Regions from separate parts of the Homo sapiens genome. Here regions 1 and 2 are each linked to region 3. The links are contacts of gene promoters, found by promoter capture Hi-C in human tissues and cell types (Jung and others, 2019). All regions are on one chromosome and are shown on one strand. The core of a region is centred on a gene start or on the middle of the fragment in contact, and the rest is flanking DNA. Distances in the headings are between cores, read along the strand shown.

The links. Contacts are between HindIII fragments. The study calls those that stand out against the background at their distance.
Region 1: a contact is called between a fragment that was not itself captured here and the fragment with the promoter of HOXD1 in region 3, in 2 of the 25 tissues and cell types used here (H1 embryonic stem cells and hippocampus).
Region 2: a fragment that was not itself captured here is called in contact with the fragment with the promoter of HOXD1 in region 3 in 2 of the 25 tissues and cell types used here (hippocampus and mesendoderm cells).

What each region holds. Positions count from the first base shown.
Region 1 is chr2:176,326,758-176,330,635 of GRCh38, reverse strand. It overlaps MTX2 (metaxin 2), which reads right to left. Exons shown (of 10, transcript NM_006554.5): 5 at 3,735-3,811; 6 at 2,251-2,343; 7 at 1,724-1,762; 8 at 1,210-1,335; 9 at 1-52. Among named protein-coding and RNA genes, the nearest start is that of MTX2, 59 kb to the right of the region's middle. The HindIII fragment of the contact is 3,873 bases long and covers 581-3,878 here.
Region 2 is chr2:176,362,812-176,366,602 of GRCh38, reverse strand. No RefSeq gene overlaps it. Among named protein-coding and RNA genes, the nearest start is that of MTX2, 95 kb to the right of the region's middle. The HindIII fragment of the contact is 4,605 bases long and covers 1-3,791 here.
Region 3 is chr2:176,186,855-176,190,994 of GRCh38, reverse strand. HOXD1 (homeobox D1) reads right to left here and starts at 2,327. Exons shown (of 2, transcript NM_024501.3): 1 at 1,542-2,327; 2 at 88-1,187. The coding sequence starts at 2,193. The coding sequence ends at 853. It overlaps HAGLR (HOXD antisense growth-associated long non-coding RNA), which reads left to right and starts at 2,037. Exons shown (of 3, transcript NR_033979.2): 1 at 2,037-2,181. It overlaps MIR7704 (microRNA 7704), which reads right to left and starts at 2,152; the gene lies at 2,094-2,152. The HindIII fragment of the contact is 12,505 bases long and covers 1-4,140 here.

The DNA of each region.
Region 1 (3,878 bases), core at 1,268-3,767, 140 kb before region 3:
TTCCCAGTCTTTGAGAGAGAGCTTGACAGCACTGGTCTACATCCTCTAAGACCTAACACAGGCAATGAACCCCAAGGAAAAGTATTTCAATTAGCAAAACAATAAAAAGTATCTAAAACGTAACTTGTATCACAGTTTATAACAAAAATATAAATTTAAGTTAACCTTTTATAATATATTTTAATAAGACCATAGACCACATATATATATAATACTTTCTATATAAGAAATACTTATAAGAAATACTTTCTATATAAGAAATACTTATAAGAAATACTTTCTATATAAGTATATATATATAATACTTTGTATACAAGAAATAGGAAGAAATTCTCAGTGAATGTCCTTCAAAATACAAGTACATTTAAGTTACTTATAAGGATTTTGTCAAGAACAAAAGTGTCTTCCTGAATCCATATATTCAAATGGCTTTGCATATACCAAAAAATCTGCTTAATAAAGGTAACAACATTGACCCACTATGAGTAAAAGCATTTGAGTTATTTTCCCACTAGTGGAGATAGATTTTTATTTATTCTATCCCTATTCATTTACTGAAACCCCCTTGTAGCCAATGGCACACATCAGTGAGATGGCTGGCTAGTATTAAGGGTAGCCTTGGAAAAGACGGGCATTAATTAACTTAATGATGCTTGTGGACAAGATAAGTATTTTTAAGTTTTGCTACTTTAGTAGCAAAAATATAGATAGACAGATAGATAGACAGATAGACAGATAGATAGACAGACAGACGGACAAAGTACTGTATTTAACAGGGCTTTTTTTTTAAGCCCTGATGCTGCAGATCTATATTTAGTTACATAAAAGGTGCCCACAATGTATTGTTCAATTAAAAAAAAAAAAAAACCCTCAGGTTATACAGTAGCAGGCATAATGATCCCATTTGAGAAAATGTTACTAAGAAACATCTAGAAGAAGGCTCTCCAAATAGTTAAGGGTGGTATTTTCTAGGTGATGAGATTTCAGGCAAGTTTTATTGCTTTTTTACACATATCTGCATTGCATTGTTTGCTTTACATCAAGCATGTATGATTTTTTAGAAATAAAATTACTTCATGTTAGTGAAAATCACAGGAAATGGTTTTCTTGCAAATCTTATATATATTTTTTTAAAGGAGTATCAATATAAAGAATGATTCTTTTAATGCATAAAAGTTGAGGGTTTTGTCAACTTCAACCTGAACTGACCTGGTCCAGAGTCTTCTTTCCCCATCCAATAGCTTTCATCTTACGTTTGACTTCCCACTGTTTTTGATAGGCCAAAATATGATTCAGAGGCCAAGGGTAAGGAGATCCATACCTAGCATGAGTGATCTAAAGTAAAAAGATTTTGTAAAAAAGGTGATCCTTCCTAAAAACAATGCCCGTTTTTACAAATAGAATTCTAAAAGAAATATATTTTCAGAGAACATAAATAGAGCAATCTGAAAAAAATACACATCCTGCAATCTAAAAAATTAAAATTTTAAGCCATTCCCTTTAAAAATATATAAACTTTTATGTACTTTGCAACCCGTTATATCAAACAATGACACATAGCTTCCCTAAAATGTTATGTGCAAGCAAAATTAAAGTAAGTGAAAAACTATATCACTAATGGTATAAACCACAATGTTTCATTTATGAGCAGGGACTTGCGATTCTGAGCAAAAGTGTTTTCTCATTAAATTTTAATTAAGATAAATGTTACAGAACCACTCACCTCCCCTACTGTAGCTTCATCACACCACTGAAGATACAGCTAGGAACAAAAGAACAGTCACTAAACTTTAGAATACCAAAGAGGAAAAGGATAAAGAAAGTTATTTTTTGCCAAGGCAATTTTTTATAAGCTAATTTCATAAGTCACACATGTAGCGGTTTGTTTTTCTTAGCTGCTATCCACAAAAATGTAATGATGGTACGTTATAAAAATATTTTTTATTCACACAATACATGTCTAAATACCATTAAAGTGTTTTACAGATATTATTTAAGCAAATTTCAAAAGGCCAAAGTAAAATAATGAGTAGGCAAGAATCACTCCTTTTTATAAACAGAAAAACTAGAACTGAAAATGTCAGGTAACTTGTTCAAAGGTAATAATCAAATAATTTAGGTAGCCAACTCAACTCTAGAATTACTTGACTATTTTCCCATTTCTCAATAACTTTAACCCATAAGAAAGATTATATTTTATGAGAATGAGAGAAAAAGCTTATTTTCAAGCCGTATCATCTAGTATTTTACCTCTGCAGTCAACAGCATATTGTTGACTAATTCCATGTAAGCTTTCATTTCTGCTTTTTGGACTTCCTCCAGCCCATCACTAAGAGAATGGCCCTAAAGGGAATTTAAAAAAATTTAAAAGAACATCATATTAAATATACAAAAACTTTCAGTTATCTCACTAACAAATAACGTAACATGCAACTATACAATGAATTAAACGTCCAAAATGCCCCCTAAAAATTATTTTATATAAAAGCATAAATAATACTCTGCTATCACTACAAAATATTAGTATGTACTTACTTGTCATTATACAAATGTATCTTTCAATAGAGAAAATTACACTATCAACTACTTCACAAAAGAAGAAAACAGAATGGTCAGCAAACCTTGTTTAAGAGATTAACCTTATTTAGAAATAAAGGAAATGCCAAAAGACTGACATGTGCTGTTTATAAAGTGGTCAAAGATGAAAAAAATACGTTTGTAAAGATATGGGGGGAGAAACCCACTTATTTTAAAATTCTAATACTCTATAGTTACTAGGAGATACATAAAATGATATAACCTTTAGTTCAATCTGGCAATCTATTACAAGATTTAAAAAGTACATAACCTATGACATCCTAATACCACTCTCAGGAATTTATCCTAAGGTACCAATACCAACCTTAGGAATTTATACAAAGATGTATATATAAGAAAATTTATCTTAGTACTCTATAAAAACAAAAAATTGGCCATGACCTAAAAGCCCAACAATAAACTTGAGTAAATAAAATTCTAATTTATCCAATACAGGGGGAGGGTGTTGAAGAAAAAAAAAATAATATATATATATATTTTGGAGATATATATATATCTCCAATACAGCAGAATACAACAATGTGAAAGGATGATATATACCTACAGCTATTAATATGGAAGAATTTCCAAACATATTTATGATTTTAAAAGGTATGTTGCAAAATAATACACACTAGTATGATCTAGGTTTTTCTATATATTCAAAAAGTCTGGAATGATTTTTCAGAAACACTAATGGGAGTTGTTCCTTAATAACTATTAAAATCTAAACTGAATAAATGAAAAGCAGAATCATTCAAATGGATAAATACATTCAACTTCAAACAAATCCTGTATCTCCCTTTTCAAAGGTCAGCCAGACACTTCAAAACCTAATAGTTTTTCATTTATGACCACAGTTGTAGTAAGCATAAGTTAGAAAATTATCTACCATTTTGTAAAGATCAAACCATCTCTTTAGACTAGATATTAAAATTACATACCTTTAATAAATTTGACATTAATAGAGGAAAAAAAGCTACCTCTTTTGCCATTATATCATGAAAAAATACTAACTTACACTTCAGAAATATTTTCCAGTAGTTTGCATTGGCATTTTATAAAACTAGGTTGAAATCAATGTAAATGTTAAGACACATTAAAGAATGATGAATGACTTGGTAACTGATCAAATACATTTAATATCTTTTTATTACCTTGGCTTTAACAAATTGGACTATTGGACCAAGTTCTGATACTACTTGATTTCCCACATGAATAAAAGGTACTTTACCTGTTGAGAGAAAAAAAAAGTATTTATAAAAATACTTCCAGTATGTTAAAGTTTGTGATAATTAAAA
Region 2 (3,791 bases), core at 321-2,820, 180 kb before region 3:
TATGTTATATAATAGCTGTTTTAACATCTTTGTCTACTAATCTGTGTCATCTGTGTCATTTCTGGGTCTATTTCTACTGATTGATTTTTCTCTTCCTGCTTTTTGCACACCTGATAATGTTATCTTGGGTCGCAGACATTGTGAATTTTACATTAATGGGTGCTGGAGATTTTTGTGTTCCTTAACTGTTTTAAGGCCTTGTTCTGGAATGCAGTCTTGGAATTAATTCTATTGATTGATTGATTGATTGAGACAGAGTCTCACTCTGTTGCCCAGGCTGGAGTGCAGTGGCACCAGCCGTCTTAGCTCACTGCAACTTCTCCCTCCTGGGTTCAAGCAATTCTCCTGTCTCATCCTCCAGAGTAGGTGGGACTACATGCATGCACCACCATGCCTGGCTAATTTTTGTATTTTTAGTAGAGACAAGGTTTCACCATGTTGATTTTGATGCTTGCTTTTAAGCTTTGTTAGGTAGGTCTAGACAACCATTAGTCTAGGTCTAATTGGGCCCCAATACTGAAGGAATACCGTTCTGAGAACTTCAATGCCACATGTATTAGATGGTCTTCTCACTCTAAGGAGAATACAAACTATTTTCAGCCTTCTCTGAACTCTAAGGCTTGCTTGGCTTGCTCTTTTCCAATAGTTCTTTCCCAGCCTTAGTGAAGTTTCTTCATAAGCATGTGATGATCAATACTCAGTTGAAGACTAGAACCTTATACAGATCTCCAGAGTTCTCTCTCTTTATGCAGTTATCTTCTCTTCAGTACTCTGCTTTGTGAATTCTAGCTACTGTGGCCTTCTTGGCCTGGAATTCTTGTATTCTCAACTCAGGGAGACTGCTGGGCTCTGCTTGGGTTCTCCTCTTTCCTGTGAGGCAGCCTAGAAATGCCTTCTAAGCAGAAGCTGGGTAATTGAATGGCTTATTTTGTTTCTTTTCATGCAGGCATCACTGTTCTAAACTGACTATTGTTTCATGTCTTAAACCATTGTTTTATATATTTGGTCTGATTTCTACAATTGTTTAAGGCAGGAGGATACATCCAGTCCTTGTTCCTCTCCATCATGACTAGAAGTAGAAGTTCTTGGATAGCATTGTGAAAGACAAAAATTGCTCTAAGTGTCAGAGTGAAAATGAGCTTTTCTTATTCAGAATTGCCAAAGAACAAAAAAAAATAGAAATGAAAATTTACCCTCTCTAAAACAAGCCCTTTGGCAATAGTATCCAATTCAAAGTAGAAAAAGAAAAATACATTGACTCTTTAGAGTAAAAAGTTTAATTTATATACATATGAGAAGGTAATTCAACAAATTAAAGGTAACCTACCTGTCCTATTTCAAAATTACTTTAAATTCTTAGAAGTCACTAAAAACATTGTTTCAATAGCCAGAAATATTTTCTGATGTAAAACGTAAGTTATTTCTTCATTTCTATTTGGTAACAAAACAAAAAATAGCATGACTGCAACACAAATCTGTGCACAGATTTGTCTCAAAAAGAGAGAGAAAGAAAGAAAGGAATGAAATAAACAGAAAAATTGGCCTGAGCAAGCTGGGACTTTTCTTCTTACATGCCCCACTTTGTATTGGTAAGACCAGATAATGAGTAGCACTTTTTCTTTGTAACAATTCATTAATCAGAGAAATGATCCTTGCTAGTGTTTAGATGTTTTACTTAATTTGGTACCTCTGGCCTGCTGCCCCACTCGTGCCAAAATTATTATTTCTCACCCAGCAGGTGATAAATAACAACTTCAGTTGTGATTAATACCATGAATCCTTCAACCTGATGAATGCAAAAAAACTTGAGACCTACAGGACAAGTGGGTGATAATTGTTGTGAGAACTGTTGAAGCTCTGCTCAGCTTGTGAGGGGAGAAATCCACAGGAAATGAAGCATTTGCTAGCAGTCCAACTGATCCTAAGAGGCTTCATTAATCCCATCTCAGCAACATTCGCCATCTGAATACCAGTGCTAGCTTTTCTCCCTCCCAATACTAAGTTTTAAATATCTTCAGAGAAAAGAAATCATGAACTCATTTTTGCATGCATTTAAATATTTATTGAATGGATGAATAAATGAATAATAAATAAGAAAACAGAATTTTCGCCCATGTACTAGACATTATAATGTGGGTCATTTGAGAGCTGCATATGGTTATCTCTTGTCATTTCTCTAATAAAGCAATTGTGCACAAGTGTAGTTTTGCTAAAATCCATAGCAAAATTAACATTCTCTGCTGGCAAAAAGAAAACTGTTAGCAATGGCCAGTAACTAAAGCCACATGGTGCCATCAACTTGATCATTATTATTTAGCTCTAGATACCAACATAGTATACCAGTGGTCCTCAATTAGGCAGATGGTAAAGGGACTGCGTGTTATTTGAAAAAGCTTCCCAAGATATTTCTTGACTCCTCATTGAGAAACTGCTTTAAATGGTGGTATATATTTTAAGTCACAAGTCAATGGATGCATAATGATGGTCAACCAGTTGAATATTGCCTACAGACATTTTGGTTTGGCAGGCAGGTTGTTTTAATTCTTTTACTTTAATGCCTTAAGGTACAGGGATGCATTATCCACTTTGGCACAGCCCCTGCTATGCCTTTTGTCTAATAACTAGTCGGTCTCATTCTATTCATTACATATGTGGCTTCTGAACTGAGTTTGTGATCCCTGGCTGAATGGAGAGGTACTAAACAATAACAACCAAAAAAACCAAAAAAGTAAAAAAATAACTTAGCTTGCAATGTTTATCTTATATAAATTTCAGGGAACAGAAGAAAGTGTCACCCAATTCATTTCTTTAAATCAACTTTATTATGGTATAATTACATACAATAAAATGAAGTTTGGTGAATTTTGACAAATGTGTACATCTTATAAACATCAAAACCAATATATAGAATTCTTCCATTACCCCCCCAAGTGCCTTATACATTCAATACAAAAAGAAAACCAACAACAACAAAAATCTGACCTCAGATAACCCTTGATCTGCTGTCATTATAGATTAACTTTGTGTATTGTAAAATTTATATATGCATAGAGAATGTACTTTCATGTCTGCCCTCTTACCTGCAGCATATGTAATGGTTTAGGGATTCACCCAGACTGTTGCAAGTAACAGTTGTTCGTTACTTTTTTTACTGAGTAGTGTCCTATTGTTTAAAGGTACCATAATTTATCTATTCACCTGTAAATGGACTTTTGGACTTTTTTCTAATTGTGGGATACTATGAATTAAGCTATTGTGAACACCCAGGCATTAATCTTTGCATGGACATGGCCTCATTCCTCTGGGGTACTTAGCTGTAGAATTACTGAATCATATAGTAAATATATTTTTAAGAAACAGCCAGTTTCCTAAAGTGCTTGCACCAATTTACACTCCCACTAGCAGTGAATGAGAATTTCAATTGTTTCATGTCCTTCTCAACACATATTATCAAACTTTTCTATTTTAGTCATTTCAATAGGTGTGTGATGACATTTCATTGTGATTTAATTTACATTTCCCTGATGACTAATATAATTAAGCTTTTTCTTCATGCATTTATTGGTCATTCATGCATTTTTTTTGTAAAATGCCTAAGTCTTTTGCTCATCTTTTAACCTTGTATTTTTAGTTGGCTTTTTATTAATTTCTGAGTTCTTTGTTGTTCTGGATACAAGACCTTTATCAGCTATATTATTGCAAAACTTTCCCCTATGGTAAGCCTTTTTTAATTTATTGTCTTTGGAAGAGCAAAAGTTTTAAATTTTGATTAAGTCCAATTTTCAAAGTTT
Region 3 (4,140 bases), core at 1,078-3,577:
AGAATCAAGAAAATTCAAATACAGGAAACTGAATCAACTTTAAAGAAAGAGAATCATTATTAAAGAGTGTAAGAAAAGCAGAGAGCAGCAGATTCTATAATTTTTATTACAAAAAAAACCCTTTACATGCTATGACATTAAATGTCACTTATAAGGTCATTGCAAGCAAATCTTTTTAAAAAATATACATACTGTATATATTTACATTCAAGTTTGAATAATATTTGTCAAGATATAGTTCAGATTCTACTCTTTACCCATTCTGTGGATTTGTTCATCTAGTAACTAAACAGCGATTGTATCATCACTCAGGCACATAGAGAGGTAGAAACCGCTTTTTTAAAGAAAAAAAAACTGGAGTGCAAATGTGAAGATCACTGAAGCAGCTTAGCTACATCAAGGAGACCCTAACTAGCTTTGGTCATCTCAAAAAGCTGAATATATGTAGCCTTGTCCTTTAAATTAAAACCAGAAAAACTTTGGGCAGGTGCTCTTCTGAGCACATCAGAGTGCTGACAGAACTCAGCAACTAATGGTCTGCCACTCTGCAACGCGAATTGCACATGACTAAGTGAGGCAAAGATAGCAGCGGAGCTGGGCTGGCAGCTGGGCACCTTTTCCCTGATAAGACACAAATCATAACCAAACAAGTGGCTTACAAGACAGTCAATTAATATCTGGACATATAGTCTGGAACTCGGAAGCCAACTAAAGTACTTCATTTCCCAAGTGAAATCCCTATTCATTTTTGTTCTCCCACCTCCATCCCAAACTGAGCTCCTAAGTCTAGATAGGGATGGGGGTCGCCTGGGACTTCTGCAGGCCACAGTTTTTCGGCCCCAAGTACCGGCCTCACGAAGGCTCTTGGGACTGAGAAGGGCTGCCGGGGTTCTTGATAAACTTAGTGGGGGTTGTTCCAGAGAGGGGAAGTTGGAGGGGAGCCACAGGAATGGCCGTGGCCAGAAGCCCTTCTCGTTCCCTTTTCTTCTGTTTCATCCTGCGGTTCTGGAACCAGATTTTGACTTGCGTGTCATTCAGGTGCAAGCAGTTGGCTATCTCGATGCGCCGGGCTCGAGTTAAGTACTTATTGAAATGAAACTCTTTTTCCAGTTCTGTCAGTTGCTTGGTGCTGAAATTCGTGCGGATCGCGCTGGAGGGGCTAGCGGCCCCATACTCGGCGAGTTTGCCTGCAACGTAAAGACAGGGCGTCAGCCAGGCCTGAGGCCGGGGACAGAATGTGGGTGAGCAGTGGAGCTAGTTAGAATCAAAGTCCCAGCGCAGCCCTCCTGGGTCCCTAGGAACAGAATTTGTACCAGGAGAAGTTCCACGGAGAGCTCCTTCCTGAAATTTTCTCAATGCCTGGCACATTTTCCGAATCTGTACTCGAGGCAGACTCCATGGAATTCGCCCGGGAACGCGTCTCCTCCACAAAACCCAAACCGCTGTCTGGAAAGGCAGCGACACCACGCTCCCAGCGCATTTCCGCGGGGGAGGCTCCGTCCCCAACCCCAGGTGGCCCCATCCAAGGCCCGCGGACTTACCTTTCTTAGAGGCATTCCTCTTCACTTTCATCCACTCGAACGTGCTGAAGGCGGCAGGGAGGCCGGAGGCGGGAGAGACGGACTTGGGGTAGGTGCCTGGGGCCGGGGATGCGGTCTGGAAAGCACCAGGGTGGCCGTCGGCTGACGCTTTGAGACAAGCCGGAAAAGGGCCGGGTTCGCCGAAGGCCGCGTAATCCACCTGGCCGCTGAGGAGGAAAGAGCCGCCGCCCGAGAAGACGGCCGAGGTGGCGTAGTGGACGTGAGACCCGCCGTCGTCGGCCGCCCGCCCCAGCACGCCCGGGAAGTCGTACGCCGGCCCGGACCCCAGGAAGCCGTAGTCCGCGCCCCCAGCTGCCGCGGCAGGTGCGGCACCAGGTTCGTAGGCCCCCTCCAGGGTGCACTGCGCGTACTGGGGCGCGGCCGGAGGCGGTACGGACGGCCGCGCGGGGGCGGCCGGGGGCGAAGGCGAGGGTCGGGCGGCGGCCAGGGGCAGACAGCTGACGAAGGCGCCGTCGCCGTTGCCCAGAGGGAAGGCGGGCTGCAGAGCCACGGGCCGGGCGTCGGAGCGGCAGAACTTGGGTGCCAAGCTGAGCACGTCGCCGCCGACCCCGCCGCTGCTGCTGCATGACACGTACTCCAGGTAGGAGCTCATGGTTCGGGCCCCACCTTTCTGAGGGCGCAGGCCGGGGCCGGAGTACGGAGCCGGGCAGAGGCTGAGCAGGACTGCCGCCGTCTGCGCCGCTCCGCCAGCCCTCTCTACCCGAGCTGCCCTCTCCAACCCATGGCGAGTGAGCCGGAGGTAAATAGTGGCCTAATATACCGGCGGGGGCGGCCACGTGGCGCTGGCCGGCCAATGGGCGGCCTCTCCGCTCGGCCCGGTCGGCGCGCCGCTCCTCGCGCCTGCCCCGCAGCCAAGTTAGCCAAAGCAGCCCAGGGCCGCCGCCCAGCGCCCCCGAGCCCCGAGGAGAGCCGTCGCGACCGGGGGCTGCCTGGGCAAGGGCGGGGCGAGAGGGCAGAACGCCTGCTCTCGGACAGGTATTGGGCGAGGTGGGGGGAGAAAGGCAGGACTGGACGCTTGGGTGAGGGCCCGTGGATGCAGCGGGGCGAGCCGCTTCTGCTCTGGATCGTGGGGGGGGCTAGTCCCTCGAGGGCGGAGTGTGGGCGTCGCGGCATGGAAAAGGTTAAATGGGAGCGTGACGCGCGGCCGGTGGAGACTGCTCTTCGCCCACCTCCAGGACAGATAAAGTTATTCCTCTTCCCCTCTTCTGAGTCCTCTGCGCTTTCGGTTTGCTTGGCGCTGATGTTATCCCTCTTCTAAACCTAGAGCAGATGTTTGGTTTTTTCCTTTCTTCCCCCTTTCCTAGGACTCATGGAACTACATCTTATGCTGTGAGTGCTGTGTGCCTAGGGCGGGACAAAATTTTCACTTTTTGACTAGGCTTCCTTTTAACGTGACTTTGCAGCTTTCTTCTATCCCTCGCAATTTGTGGCGGCGTGATGAGGGCCAGTGTTGTAGTGCCAGATTTTGATAAAGTTTCTGCCTTGTGGGGTGGTTTAGCAGATTTTCCCCTCCGGCTGGGTTGTTGGAATAAAGAATCCAGAGTGGTGGTGGAACACTCCTTATGCTCCTTTCTGGGAGACTGGCACAGGCACCGGTGCGGCGCTTGCTTTCACTGAGGAGCTTGTCTGGAGGGCGCAAGGGCTTACCGGGGACGGGTGAGATCTCAGAGGTTTAGATGGACTTGTACCTCGAAGCAATTAGAGCTTCTGCTCCATCAGATAAGTGCTGCATCGTCTCTTGTGAGTGAAATCTGAGGGCTCACAATGTTAATGGGCTCACGTCTTTCCCTTGATAATATGGTTTTGTTTACTGAGTGTAGAGAGACGGGAAATAAAAGTGCAATTGCCACAGGAAATGAAGAGTAGAAAGGTTACAAAGACCAGCTTTACATTGACAAACTTTCCAACTTCCTTTAGTATTTCTTTTAATGTTCCCTTTTGAGGGGACTGTAGGAAAATTACAAATTAGATAAATAGAGGTTATTTACACACAGTAGTTATGAAAGAGGGTGGTTTCCTAAAACCCTGTGTGAATAAAGACTCTAAAGAGTCTACTCAGAGCTTATATCAAGTGCCCTTGAAAAGTTAATCTATTACAGCCTCTAAGTTATGGTAACCGAGGTTTTATCATTGTTTTACTGATTGACTTGTCATAAAAGAGCGATTGAGCTGTTGTTGCCTAAATTTCCACTCTGAGGAAGTCTTTAGAATAGGCGCCATCACAGCCCAGGGAGCCAGTTCCTTCCAGGGTTGTGGACTTGTGAATAAACAAAGCCCTACCAAAATGTGGACTACTGATGGACCCGAAGTTGCTGCAGGATGGGGGAGGGATGTCCCCAGGTTGAGGGGAGCCAGTAGAGGGTGGATGCCTAGGAATCAGCACAAAGTTAAAGAGGTCTGTGGTTCCTGCACTGCTGGAGTTCTTGAGTTTGATTGGAAATGGAATACCTGTGCTGAAAATAGCCCTTCAATCTTGATTTTGCTATTTCAGTTGTGCTATAGCCAGTCAGATAAGGTCCTAAATAATTTTTATTTATTT